Linked DNA regions of Homo sapiens: regions 2, 3, 4 and 5 are each linked to region 1. The links are contacts of gene promoters, found by promoter capture Hi-C in human tissues and cell types (Jung and others, 2019). All regions are on one chromosome and are shown on one strand. The core of a region is centred on a gene start or on the middle of the fragment in contact, and the rest is flanking DNA. Distances in the headings are between cores, read along the strand shown.

The links. The method cuts DNA at HindIII sites, captures the fragments that hold promoters and counts their contacts. A contact is called where the count stands out against the background at its distance.
Region 2: a contact is called between a fragment that was not itself captured here and the fragment with the promoter of GJD4 in region 1, in 1 of the 25 tissues and cell types used here (dorsolateral prefrontal cortex).
Region 3: a fragment that was not itself captured here is called in contact with the fragment with the promoter of GJD4 in region 1 in 1 of the 25 tissues and cell types used here (lymphoblastoid cells).
Region 4: a contact is called between a fragment that was not itself captured here and the fragment with the promoter of GJD4 in region 1, in 1 of the 25 tissues and cell types used here (dorsolateral prefrontal cortex).
Region 5: a fragment that was not itself captured here is called in contact with the fragment with the promoter of GJD4 in region 1 in 1 of the 25 tissues and cell types used here (lymphoblastoid cells).

The regions. Positions count from the first base shown.
Region 1 is chr10:35,604,063-35,606,649 of GRCh38, reverse strand. It overlaps GJD4 (gap junction protein delta 4), which reads right to left and starts at 1,309. Exons shown (of 2, transcript NM_153368.3): 1 at 1,019-1,309. The coding sequence starts at 1,082. It overlaps GJD4-AS1 (GJD4 antisense RNA 1), which reads left to right. Exons shown (of 2, transcript NR_199600.1): 2 at 685-2,088. The HindIII fragment of the contact is 12,098 bases long and covers 456-2,587 here.
Region 2 is chr10:36,896,669-36,899,255 of GRCh38, reverse strand. No RefSeq gene overlaps it. Among named protein-coding and RNA genes, the nearest start is that of ANKRD30A, 230 kb to the left of the region's middle. The HindIII fragment of the contact is 3,375 bases long and covers 1-2,587 here.
Region 3 is chr10:36,754,843-36,757,429 of GRCh38, reverse strand. No RefSeq gene overlaps it. Among named protein-coding and RNA genes, the nearest start is that of ANKRD30A, 370 kb to the left of the region's middle. The HindIII fragment of the contact is 4,887 bases long and covers 1-2,587 here.
Region 4 is chr10:36,720,366-36,722,952 of GRCh38, reverse strand. No RefSeq gene overlaps it. Among named protein-coding and RNA genes, the nearest start is that of ANKRD30A, 400 kb to the left of the region's middle. The HindIII fragment of the contact is 5,063 bases long and covers 1-2,587 here.
Region 5 is chr10:36,691,771-36,694,357 of GRCh38, reverse strand. No RefSeq gene overlaps it. Among named protein-coding and RNA genes, the nearest start is that of ANKRD30A, 430 kb to the left of the region's middle. The HindIII fragment of the contact is 3,989 bases long and covers 1-2,587 here.

The sequences.
Region 1 (2,587 bases), core at 60-2,559:
AAAACAAAAATAAATATGTAAAGACAGTCAAACAAAGAATAATATCATTATGTGATGAGTCATTGAGTTGAACTTTTAACATCAAGTTGGTTTTGTCTAAATCTACAAAATAATGAGCCAGAAAAGTATCAACTGCATCTCCGGCATATATTCATCCTTTTCTGACCCCCATACCTCTCTGAAAATGTGAGTCGTCTGCATTAAACAAAAATCTATTATTTTCTTTGTTAAAAAAAATAACTAAACTTGGGATTTGGTTTAAAGTGCACAAGAGAAATGGCTACTCCTTAAAAATTAAGCTTCCAGGCCAGGCGTGGTAACTCACGCCTGTAATCCCAGCACTTTGGGAAGCCAAGGCGGGTGGCTCACGAGGTCAGGAGATCGAGACCATCCTGGCTAACACGGTGAAACCCCGTCTCTACTAAAAACACAGAAAATTAGCTGGGCGTGGTGGCAGGCGCCTGTAGTCCCAGCTACTCGGGAGGCTGAGGCAGGAGAATCACTTGAACCCGGGAGGCAGAGGTTGCAGTGAGCTGAGATTGCATCACTGCACTCCAGCCTGGGCAACAGAGTGAGACTCTGTCTCCAAAAACAAAAAAAAAAAACCAAGCTTCCAGAATAAAACCTAAAGGTATCACCTTCTGATTAACATTTGTTGTTCTGTTCCTTTTCCTGGTAACGTAGCCACACCAGGGTTGCACACAAACACCCCTCCACCTGCTTTGGTCTTTGGAGTCAGCACCCCAGTGTCAGCACAGGATGATCTGTGAGAGAACAATGTCAAACGCAAGACTCCCTTACATGACGGAGGAACCGCGGAACCATTCAAAGAAACTAGAAGCCTCAGCTCTCTTCCCTCCAGAAAGGCACAGCCCTTTCTTTTGGGAGTGGGTGGACTTTCAGCTTGGTGCTTGCACACTGAAAATGAGTAAATACCTGGACCCTTTAAGGACTCAATTCCACCATGGCAGTGGAAATAAAAACAGCGCAGGAGTTTGGAGATGGTCCCAATACTCACCCACCATGGTCACGTTGCAGTTTAATGTGATGATGAGAAACCCTAGCAAGTCCACGCCTTCCATGCTTCCAGAATGTCCCAGGCTCCAGGCTGCAGGAGACACTGGAGGGCTGTGTTCTCCAAGGAGGCGGATAAATGTCCTTTAACTACATAAGACTTAAAGGTGTGAGCTGGAGATAAGAAAGCAAAGGTCTGAGCCAGGAGTAGGAGGTGGGTTTTTCTGTCTCCAAGTTGAGACGGCCCTAAGCCGTTTGCCTCTGAGGCGAAACATTCCTGACAACTGCAGTGACCAGCAGAGCAAGCAGCAGTCATCTCTTATTGTGGGCTATTCTTACTCGCCTGGGATATTCCCGGCCTGTGGCAGCGCTCATATGTCCCCACCAGGACAGCCAGATGCTTCAGGATATAATAGCAGCAACTACTTTTAACCCAAGAAAGAAAACTTCTGCTAACTAGCCAAGTAAATTTCTCTATTAAAAAGGCATTTCCTCCTTGAAAACATTTCCACAACCACTTCACTTGTGCAAGAAGCCCTTAAAGTGTTCACGTTTTGTCTTCTCAATCAAGCATGAATCGCCATGCCACCATCACACGAACCCACAAGGATCTCGCCCTTATTCTGAATTCCTGTGTCATTGGTGCAGGCAGAAATCTGAAACTCAGTTGGGTGTCCCAACTTTAGACCGTGACTTGGTTATTCTCCTGCTGCTTCCTGTGCAGTGAGTGACAACTCTTCGCTTGGAGACAAAAGCCTGGGTGCAAAGCCCGGGGCAGCCCCCTACTCACTGGGGAAGTCATTGGATCCTTCCAGATAGCCTCATCTTGCAATAAGGAGAATCATGCCATTCCACTTGCCATTTGTGGGAGGCTTATGTGAAATGATGGTGTAGAATAAGAGCAACTGGTGTGAAGTGGGTGTACGACAACCCATATCCGTGGGATTTCAATCCCTAATTGGCCTCTACGACCTTCACAGATTACATCTTCCCTTTGTATCTCCCAGCCCCATCTAGCCTGGAGCTGTTCCCATTGAATCTACTTAATAAATGTCTGTTAAATCTGTCATGAAATATCACGGTCTGGACCTGCTGACATCAATCACAGTTGCGTCAAAATCCTATCGCTGCAGCCACCTTCATATCTGGGAAGAACCCATCCTGCAGGGTTGGGGATCTATGATCAGGGTGGAAATTGTAAACTTTAAAAGGAATGATTTCAATTTTCCATGAAAGCTATTCTTTATATCCCCATCTTTTCTTCATTTCTGATCTATTCTTGACTTTAGTAATATCCCTAGAAAGATTCCCAGAAGAGTGCAACAAAGCTACTTTCATCTTTGCTCACATGACATGCTCCCATCCACGGAAAACGTTTTGACCCCCTTGAAAGGAACAGTGGTTTTGCTATATTTTAGTCAAATGCTTCGACATGAGCAAGGAAATTTGAGAAATTGTAGTTAAGTAAAAATATTGAAATAGTCACAGGGTGTAAGTATAAAATAAAGGAGAATTTGTCTCCTAATAGACTGCTCATGGTATTGGCTTTAAAAAAAAAATGAAATATCAGGAA
Region 2 (2,587 bases), core at 59-2,558, 1.3 Mb before region 1:
AGTGTCTCTGATCTGGACATCCAACATGAAGCTGCATCTTCTCACGAGACCAGAGGATCAACACTCAGTGGGGTCTCAGTGTTTTAAAATCACTGATCCGCAGAAACAGTGCAGCCCAGTCTGCTAGTCTGAAGTGTTTCACTCATACAGGGCATCACCTAAGAAAAAACTAGAAATAGGAGGAGTGGAGCCAAGATGGCTGAATAGGAACAGCTCCAGTCTACAGCTTGCAGCGTGAGTGACACAGAAGACAGTGATTTCTGCATTTCCAACTGAGGTACCAGGTTCATCTCACTGGGGAATGCCAGACAGTGGGTGCAGGACAGTGGGTGCAGCGCAACATGCATGAGCCGAAGCAGGGCAAGGCATCGCCTCACCCAGGATGTGCGAGGGATCAGGGAATTCCCTTTCCTAGTCAAAGAAAGGGGTGACAGACAGCACCTGGAAAATTAGGTCACTCCCACCCTAATACTGCGCTTTTCCAACGGGCTTCACAAACGGCACACCAGGATATTATATCCCGCACATGACTCGGAGGGTCCTACGCCCACGGAGCCTTGCTCATTGCTAGCACAGCAGTCTGAGATCAAACAGCAAGGCGGCAGCAAGGCTGGGGGAGGGGCGCCCACCATTGCTCAGGCTTGAGTAGGTAAAAAAAGTGACCCAGAAGCTCGAAGTGGGTGGAACCCACCACAGCTCAAGGAGGCCTGCCTGCCTCTGTAGGCTCCACCTCTGGGGGCAGGGCACAGACAAACAAAAGACAGCAATAACCTCTGCAGACTTAAATGTCCCTGTCTGACAGATTTGAAGAGAGAAGTGGTTGTCCCAACATGCAGCTTGAGATCTGAGGACGGGCAGACTGCCTCCTCAAGTGGGTCCCTGACCCCCGAGTAGCCTAACTGGTAGGAACCCCCCAGTATGGGCAGACTGAAACCTCACACGGCTGGGTACCCCTCTGAGACAAAACTTCCAGAGGAACGATCAGGCAGCAGCATTTGCGGTTCACCAATATCTGCTGTTCTGCAGCCACCGCTGCTGATACCCAGGCAAACAGTGTCTGGAATGGACCTCCAGTAAACTCTAACAGACCTGCAGTTGAGGGTCCTGACTGTTAGAAGAAAAACTAACAAACAGAAAGGACATCCACACCAAAACCCCATCTGTACATCACCATCATCAAAGACCAAAAGTAGATAAAACCACAAAGATGGGGAAAAAACAGAGCAGAAAAACCAGAAACTCTAAAAATCAGAGCGCCTCTCCTCCTCCAAAGGAACGCAGCTCCTCACCAGCAATGGAACAAAGCTGGACGGAGAATGACTTTGACGAGTTGAGAGAGGAAGGCTTCAGAAGATCAGACTACTCCGAGCTAAAGGAGGAAGTTCGAACCAACGGCAAAGAAGTTAAAATCTTTGAAAAAAAATTAGACGAATGGAAAACTAGAATAATCAATGCAGAGAAGTCCTTAAAGGATCTGATGGAGCTGAAAACCATGGCACAAGAAATACCTGACGAACGCACAAGCCTCAGTAACCGATGTGATCAACTGGAAGAAAGGGTATCAGCGATGGAAGACGAAATGAATGAAATGAAGAATGAAGAGAAGATTAGAGAAAAAAGAATAAAAAGAACAAAGCCTCCAAGAAATATGGGACTATGTGAACAGACCAAATCTACATCTGATTGGTGTACCTGAAAGTGACGGGGAGAATGGAACCAAGTTGGAAAACACTCTGCAGGATATTATCCAGGAGAACTTCCCCAATCTAGCAAGGCAGGCCAACATTCACATTCAGGAAATACAGAGAATGCCACAAAGATACTCCTCGAGAAGAGCAACTCCAAGACACATAATTGTCAGATTCACCAAAGTTGAAATGAAGGAAAAAATGTTAAGGGAAGCCAGAGAGAAAGGTCAGGTTGCCCACAAAGGGAAGCCCATCAGACTAACAGTTGATGTCTCGGCAGAAACTCTACAAGCCAGAAGAGAGTGGGGGCCAATATTCAACATTTTTAAAGAAAAGAATTTTCAATCCAGAATTTCACATCCAGGAAAGCTAAGCTTCATAAGTGAAGGAGAAATAAAATACTTTACAGACAAGCCAATGCTGAGAGATTCTGTCACTAACAGGCCTGCCCTAAAAGAGCTCCTGAAGGAAGCACTAAATGTGGAAAGGAACAACCAGTTCCAGCCACTGCAAAAACATGCCAAATTGTAAAGACCATCAAGACTAGGAAGAAACTGCATCAACTAATGAGCAAAATAACCAGCTAGCATCATAATGACAGGATCAAATTCACACATAACAATACTAACCTGAAATGTAAATGGGCTAAATGCTCCAATTAAAAGGCACAGACTGGCAAATTGGATAAAGAGTCAAGACCCATCAGTGTGCTGTATTCAGGAAACCCATCTCACATGCAGAGACACACATAGGCTCAAAATAAAGGGATGGAGGAAGATATACCAAGCAAATGGAAAACAAAAAAAGGCAGAGGTTGAAATCCTAGTCTCAGATAAAACAGACTTTAATCCAACAAAGATCAAAAGAGACAAAGAAGGCCATTACATAATGGTAAAGGT
Region 3 (2,587 bases), core at 55-2,554, 1.2 Mb before region 1:
AGTTCAGTGGCTCACATGCATTCTTTTTTTTTTTTTTTGAGATGGAGTCTCACTGTCGCTTGGGCTAGAGTGCAATGGTGCGATCTCGGCTCACTGCAACCTCCCCTTTCCCGGTTCTAGTGATTCTTCCACCTCAGCCTCCCAAGTAGCTGGGATTACAGGTGTCTGCCACTATGCCCAGCTAATTTTTTGTATTTTTAGTAGTGACGGGGTTTCACCATGTTGGCCAGGCTGGTCTCGAACTTGTGAACTCGTGATTTGCCCGCCTTGGCCTTCCAAAGTTCTGGGATTACAGGCATGAGCCACCGCACCTGGCCTCACATGCATTCTTAATAATATCCTCAGGAACAACTAACCCATGATATTCTGAAAATAAATGAAATTTAAAAGCTGTTGGAACCCCTAATAACACATTAAGAGAGAAATGGCTGTGATCGGAGTCACATGCGGTTACTAAATGACATCAGGGACAAAAACCTCCTGCCTTCTTAATTAATGATCTTTGTTAGTGATTAACTTCCCCTCTGTTGTTTTGCTTAGACTAGAAGACAGAAAACCCACGACTACTACACTTTCTGTTAAAAAAAAATGTAAATATATCCTTCCTCAAGAGAAACACTGCATATAACCAATCATCGTTACCGTACAAAAGTGGTAACTATGTGCCACCCTTGTGTGAATGATGTGGTCCTGCTAAAAACTCCTGTCTGTTGGCCGGGCGCGGTGGCTCACGCCTGTAATCCTAGCACTTTGGGAGGCCGAGGCGGGCGGATCACGAGGTCAGGAGATCGAGACCATCCTGGCTAACACAGCGAAACCCCGTCTCTACTAAAAATACAAAAAATTAGCCAGGCGTGGTGGCCGGGCGCCTGTAGTCCCAGCTACTCAGGAGGCTGAGGCAGGACAATGGCGAGAACCCGGGAGGCGAAGCTTGCAGTGAGCTGAGATCTAGCCACTCACTGCACTCCAGCCTGGGCAACAGAGGGAGACTCCGTTTCAGAAAAAAAAAAAACAACAAACGAAAAACAAAAAAAAACCCCTCCTGTTTCTGTCTATATAAATGTACTCTTAACTTCCCTGCTTCAAAACACTGACTCCTTTCAAGCTGGAGTTTCCCAATGGTTCAAGTCACACTTGAATAAACTCTCTTTAAATTAGATTCTGACCCTTTTGATTATATTAGGTCAACAATGTATTTGGAGAAACAGTAGAACAAATTATCCCTAAATGCATTTTTTATCAAACTTTTTAAGAACAGTTTTCAATTTACATGAATATTATGAATATAATAACCCTTCCCCCTTACCCTGTTTCCTTTATTTTTAGTGTTGCTACATTTGTTACATTATCAATTTTTATACATTATTAACTAAAGCCCCTGCTTTAGTCAGACTTCCTTATCTTGTATCTAATCTTCTTCTGTTCCAGGGTTCCACCTAGGACACCACCACACTGCATTTAGTCAGTATCTTCTTAGGCTCCTCTTGATGACGAGAATTTCTCAGACTCCTTGTTTTTGATGACCTTGAGAATTTTGAGGAGTACTGGTCAGGAATTTTGTAAACTGACTTTTTTTTTTTTTTAATATGTTGGATTTTTTCCCCTTCATGTTTAAACTGGAGTTTGGGGTTTGAGGGAGAAAGACTGCAGAGATGAAGTGCCATTTTCACCATCTCACATCAAGGCTCAGACTCATCAACATGACTTACACCTGTTGATGTTGACCTTGATCACTTGTCTAAGGTAGTGCTCATCAGGTTTTTCTCCTGTAAAGCTACTGTTTTTGCCCCTTATTCATACTGTATTGTTTTTGGAAAGAACACTTAAGGAGGAAGAAATTATGTTCTACTTCCTTGAAAGCTAAGTGTCTACATAAATTATTTGGAATTCTTCTGCATGGGATATTTGTCCCGTCTCTCAATTATTTGTTTATTCAAAAATGTACTTATATGACTATTTGCTCACAGATATTTATTTTATATTTTGGATTATAATCCAATACTTCTTTATTTATTTTGTTGCTCAAATGTTCTAGCCTTGGCCACTGGGAGTGTTTACATTATGGGTTTTGGTGGTGGTGGTGTTTTTATACTTCCTTACTTTCTGGCCTAACTAGATGTTCCAGGCAGATCATGTATTATTTCCTGTTCTATTTCCATTTCTAGAATCAGTCATTTCTCCAAGGAGTCTGGTTTGCTTGATTGGAGTCATTAAAAACCAAGACTTAGGCTGGGCACAGTGGCTCATGCCTGTAATCCCAGCACTTTGGAAGGCCAAAGCGGGTGGATCACCTGAGGTCAGGAGTTTGAGACCAGCCTGGCCAACATAGTGAAACCCTGTCTCTACTGAAAATACAAAAATTAGCTTTGTGTGGTGGGGGGCGCCTGTAATCCCAGCTACTTGGGAGGCTGAGGCAGGAGAATTGCTTGAACTCGGGAGGCAGGGGTTGCAGTGAGCTAAGATCGTGCCATTGCACTCTAGCCAGGGCAACAAGAGCGAAACTGTTTCAAAACAAACAAAAACTCAAGAATTGAAGACTTAAGTGTTAGATATGCTCATTTCTGCTGGCATATCATTGGTTCTAGAC
Region 4 (2,587 bases), core at 52-2,551, 1.1 Mb before region 1:
TGCCCAGCCGCCCGGCCCCATGTTCTTAATTGTTATGTTTCTCTACATCTCTGGCAGGTGGGTTGCCCAGTTTCTTTCTGTTAGAATGTGTACCTCACAGCAGGAGTATGAAGTGAGCTCCAAGGTATCTCTTCTTCCACTTCAGGGATGGCAGTTGGCAAATCATGCATAGTTTATAATAACAGTGCAGAGCAGTTCAGATCTATCAGCCTTGAAGACAGTGAAACATACTCCTGACTCTAAAAATACTCTGACGTGTATCATTGGTTTTCAATGCTACTTGGGTTTTTATCTCTTTTAAGGCATTCGGTATTTTAGCAGAGTTGCATTTGGGTAAAGTAGGAACTTGTAATATTTCCAGGTTAAACATTTTAACCTGGCAATTAACACTGGATGCATATTTTACAAAAAGGAGAAAATGCTATTATTTTGGCTGCTGGCAAAATAATTTTCCTTTGAGACCTGATTTTGTTTGGAACAAGCTTTGATGAGACAGTTTGGGTTAGAAGCTGAGCCTCCAGGAGTTGGGTGTAGACAGGTGGTAGGCTACAGAAAGAGTGAGAAGGTTCTCTTAATCATAGAAGAAGGAGAATAGTTGTACAGAGAAATGTGTGCAGAGAATCCTGAATGTGGACAAAGTAAAAGACAGAAAGAGAGTGCTGGTGAAATTACATGCAGCCTCTTTTTATTAACACTCAAGTTAATCTAGTGTTTTTAAAAATCAGAGGGTATTTAGTATAACTGGATTATTGAAAAAAAATGGTGAAGGAACTACATTTTGCAACTCAGGGACTGGTTGAAACAGAGGGAAAATGGGGTGGAACAAAGCCAGCATGCTCTTCTTCAAGTGCTTCAGGACAGCACCGCAGTGGATCCAGAGACTGCAGCAGTTTATCTGGAGTAAGTCATCACTTTTTATCTCTTTGTCAGAGGCAGCAGCCTTGATTCTCCTGGAAATAGAAACAACTGACATGTTGGATTGCAGCATCACTTTTATTAGGTTACCAGTTAAGCACCAAGTCGAATACCATCCCCAGACTGCTCAAAGGACAGGGCAGTGACCAACACATGCTATGATCCTCCAGAGCTCATGCATGGGACTGGGGGTCCATTATAATGGAAAGAAGAGCTTGCCTTTTTCACAAAGCCAACCCTCATAGCTACACTCCACTGCCCTCACAGCCGAACTTCTTCACACTTGCTATGTTTATTTTTTCTACTTAGCTCACACTCACCAAGCGAGCGACACAGGACCAAGTCATGGAAGGCTTTGTAAACATGGAGACGTGTTTTTATTACACTCCTTAAGATACACTTTTTTTATTTTAAAAGACACCAAAATATACCATTTTCTTTTTTTCTGGACAGTAGTGCTACACTGTCTTTATCCCACCCACTCTACTTTAAAAACTGATGAGAGAGAACATAAGCAAATTTTTTAGAGTACATCACTTTTTATTGAAGTATATCATATTTATAAGTCTAGAAGGAATAAGTCATGTCTTGATAAATTATCAGAAATGGATCACACACATGTAATCAGCACCAAGATCAGAAATATCAGACTCCCAAAAGTTGCCCATATAGGTACATTTGTCTTTCTCACAGGTAACTAATATCCTCACTTTTATCAGCATAGATTTGTTTTCCTATCTCTGAATTGTATACAAATAGAATCACACCAGAATCCCTGTTTTCTGTCTGACATCTTTCAGTCAAAATTGCTTGTGAGATAAATGCCTGGTATGTGTAGCAATCGTTTGTTGACTTCATTACATAGAATTCCATTGTGTAAATACACTCCAATATTTTAATGTTGATAAATGTTGGATAGTTTCCAGTTTGGCAGTGTGGCTTCTATAAACATTCTTGCATGTCTTTTGAAAACTATATGTACATATTCATGAGAATATGCCTGAGAGAGAGGAACTGCTGGATCATAGGGGATGCCCATGTTTAGCTTTTAGTAGATACTGTTCAAGAGTTTTTCAAAATCATTATATTAATTAACACTCCCACCAGTTGTGTAGGAGAGAATTCCTGTTGCTCTTTATCTTTGTCAGCACTTTGTATTGTCTTTTTATTTTAGCCATTATAGGGAATGTCTTGTGCTATTACATTGTGACTTTACTTTGCATCTCCCTGAGGATTATTAAATATGGACATTTTTCAGCCGGGCACGGTGGCTCACACGTGTAATCCCAGCATTTTGGGAGGCTGAGGTGGACGGATCACGAGTCAGGAGGTCGAGACCATCCTGGCTAATATGGTGAAACTCCGTCTCTACGAAAAATACAAAAAGTTAGCCGGGCGTGGTGGTGGGCACCTGTAGTCCCAGCTACTGGGGAGGCTGAGGCAGGAGAAATGGCGTGAACCCAGGAGGTGGAGGTTGCAGTGAGCCGAGATGGCGCCCCTGCACTCCAACCTGGGCGACAGAGGGAGACTCTGTCTCAAAAAAAACAAAAGGACATTTTTCATATGTTTATAAAATAGTTGAAGTCATATTCTTTGAAGTACCTTTTCAAGTTGTTTGGCTATCTTCAAAATTACATTGTCTTTATCTTATTAATTTTTAGGTATTCTTTAT
Region 5 (2,587 bases), core at 62-2,561, 1.1 Mb before region 1:
AGGCGAATGACGAGGTCAGGAGATGGAGACCATCCTGGCCAACATGGTGAAACCCCGTCTCTACTAAAAATACAAAAGTTAGCTGGGCATGGTGGCGTGTGCCTGTAATCCCAGCTACTCAGGAGGCTAAGGCAGGAGAATCACTTGAACCAGGGAGTCGGAGGTTCCAGTGAGCTGAGATTGCGCCACTGCACTCCATCCTAGAGACAGAGTGAGACCCTGCCTGAAAAAAACATTATGTATATATATAGAGAGAGAGAGAGAGAGAGAGTGAATTTTATTTCTTTTGATTAATTTTTCATACTATGTATTTTTTCTATTTTTACTTTGCACCTATCTTTATTATCACATTTGAGTTTCTTATAGACAGTATACAGTTAGATCATATTGTTTTTTGTTTTACTGTGAGGAAGTCATATTTTAATTTATTCTGCTAGGTTCTGTCTTTTCTTTGGTGTACTTAGACCATTTACACTTAATGTGATTATTGATATATGAGTGCTTAAGTCTGCCATTTTATTTTTTTGTTTTCTATTTGTGCTTTCTGCTTCTTGCTTCTCTTATTTTATTGATTTTTTTGTTGCCTTTCTGTGAGTTACTTGAACTTTTTTTTTTTTTTTTTTTTTTTTTTTGAGACGGAGTTTCGCTCTGTCGCCCAGGCTGGAGTGCAGTGGTGCAATCTCGGCTCACTGCAAGCTCCACCTCCCGGGTTCACGCCATTCTCCTGCCTCAGCCTCCCCAGTAGCTGGAACTACAGGTGCCCGCCACCACGCCAGGCTAATTTTTTGTATTTTTAGTAGAGACGGGGTTTCACCGTGTTAGCCAGGATGGTCTTGATCTCCTGACCTTGTGTTCTGCCCGCCTCGGCCTCCAAAGGCTGGGATTACAGGCGTGAGCCACCGCCCCCGGCCACTTGAGCATTTTAAAGAATTCCATTGTGATTTATCTCTAGTGATTTTACATGTATCTTTTTATATAGGTTTTTTTGTAGGTGCGCTAGGTGTAAGATTTTATATTATATATACCACATATAATCTAATATTACATTAATTATATAATTTATAATAATTTATGTATAAAACACTTTATTGGTGTTGTCATTTTAAGTGAAGTGTAGAAATCTTATCTCTATTTCTCTTCCTTTCCTCTCCTATATTTATAATTGTCTTAAATATTTGCTGTACAAACATTTACCGAACTATCATACAGTGTTATAATTTTCACTTGCACCATCATACCTAATTTTGAAAACTCAGGAAGGGTCTATTTGTCAGGAGCTCAGCTGAGTTGGAGACAGCTAAGCTGTCAGGTGTCAGAGTAGCCAAGTAAAGTGATGAAGCGGGAGAGTTCGCTGATTCCCCTGGCAGGACGCAGGATGTGCGGCAGGGGTGTGGCTTGCCTGTTCAGTGGTGCCGCCTGCTCAAACCCCTTGGCAGGAGGGAGAGGATGCAGACAGTCAGGCGCAGAGGCTGGGGCAAGCGCTTTGGGCTCTGGCTCCTCGGTAGGTAGTGTCTGAGGAGGGTGCCTGCAACCCCCCCCCCGTTATAAAGCTCTTTCAGCTCTGCCGCCTGCAGAGGCTTGAGTGTTAGTCAGCTCAATGAATCCTCTGCCTTTTGGCAAGGGCAGAGGGCCAGTGTGACAGCTTTCTCTATTCCGAGGTCTTGCCCAGCATCACGGAAAACTTGGGTCACACACGGGCTTGAAGGATGAATGCGAAGTTTTATTGAGTGGTGGAGGTGGCTTTCAGCCGGATGGATCGGGGGCCGCAATGGGGAGATGGAGAGGGAAGGCGATCTTCCTCCGGAGCCGGAGCTGGGCCACTCAGCTGCTGGACTCCTCTCCAACGGCCCCCGCTAAACTCCTCTGGGTGTTAGATGTTCCTCCTCTTCTCTCTTTCTCTGCCGCATCCCTTCTCCAACCATCGCTGATCTGGTGGCTTACTGGTCGGCTTCTGGAGCCTGGGGTTCAGGGTATATATGCATGGGTGCAGGATAGGGGGTGTGGCAGGACAAAAGGCAACTTTTGGGTTGTGAAAACAGGAATGCTTGTTCTCATGTAGGGCCGAGGGTATCCAGGCTTGAGGGTGGGGCCTTTGCCTGGGAACTGCTCCTTTCTACTCAGTTTTCCCTGTCTCCTGTCCGTATCAGTGACAAACCAGAAATGAAAGCCACTGAGCAGTGGTTTTAATCCCTTACTCTTATGGTATCACCAAGAGTCTGAAACAGAGTGCTGGGTCTGCCCTACTCTACCTTCCCCTATGGATTGGTGCAATGGCTGAGGGCCAGGTGGATCAGCATGATGTGGAGATTGCCTCAAGTAAAAGGCTAGTGCAATATTACAGACCCTGCGACTGGGGACCACCAGGAGGATGGAGAAAGGGAAGGGCACGGGTGGAAAGTACTGAGTATTGAGTCAGAGTAGGAAAAAGTGGCTTGAAGCTTTCCCCCTTTCTCTCGGATAAATTCTCAGCAGAGGCCAGTGAAGAAGACTTCTGCTCAAGGCCTCAGATAGAGAGTTCCAGGAATGGACAGGTCTGGGCTAGGAATATGCCCAAGAGCATGCCTGGCCCAGAGGCCCCTGAGTCCCT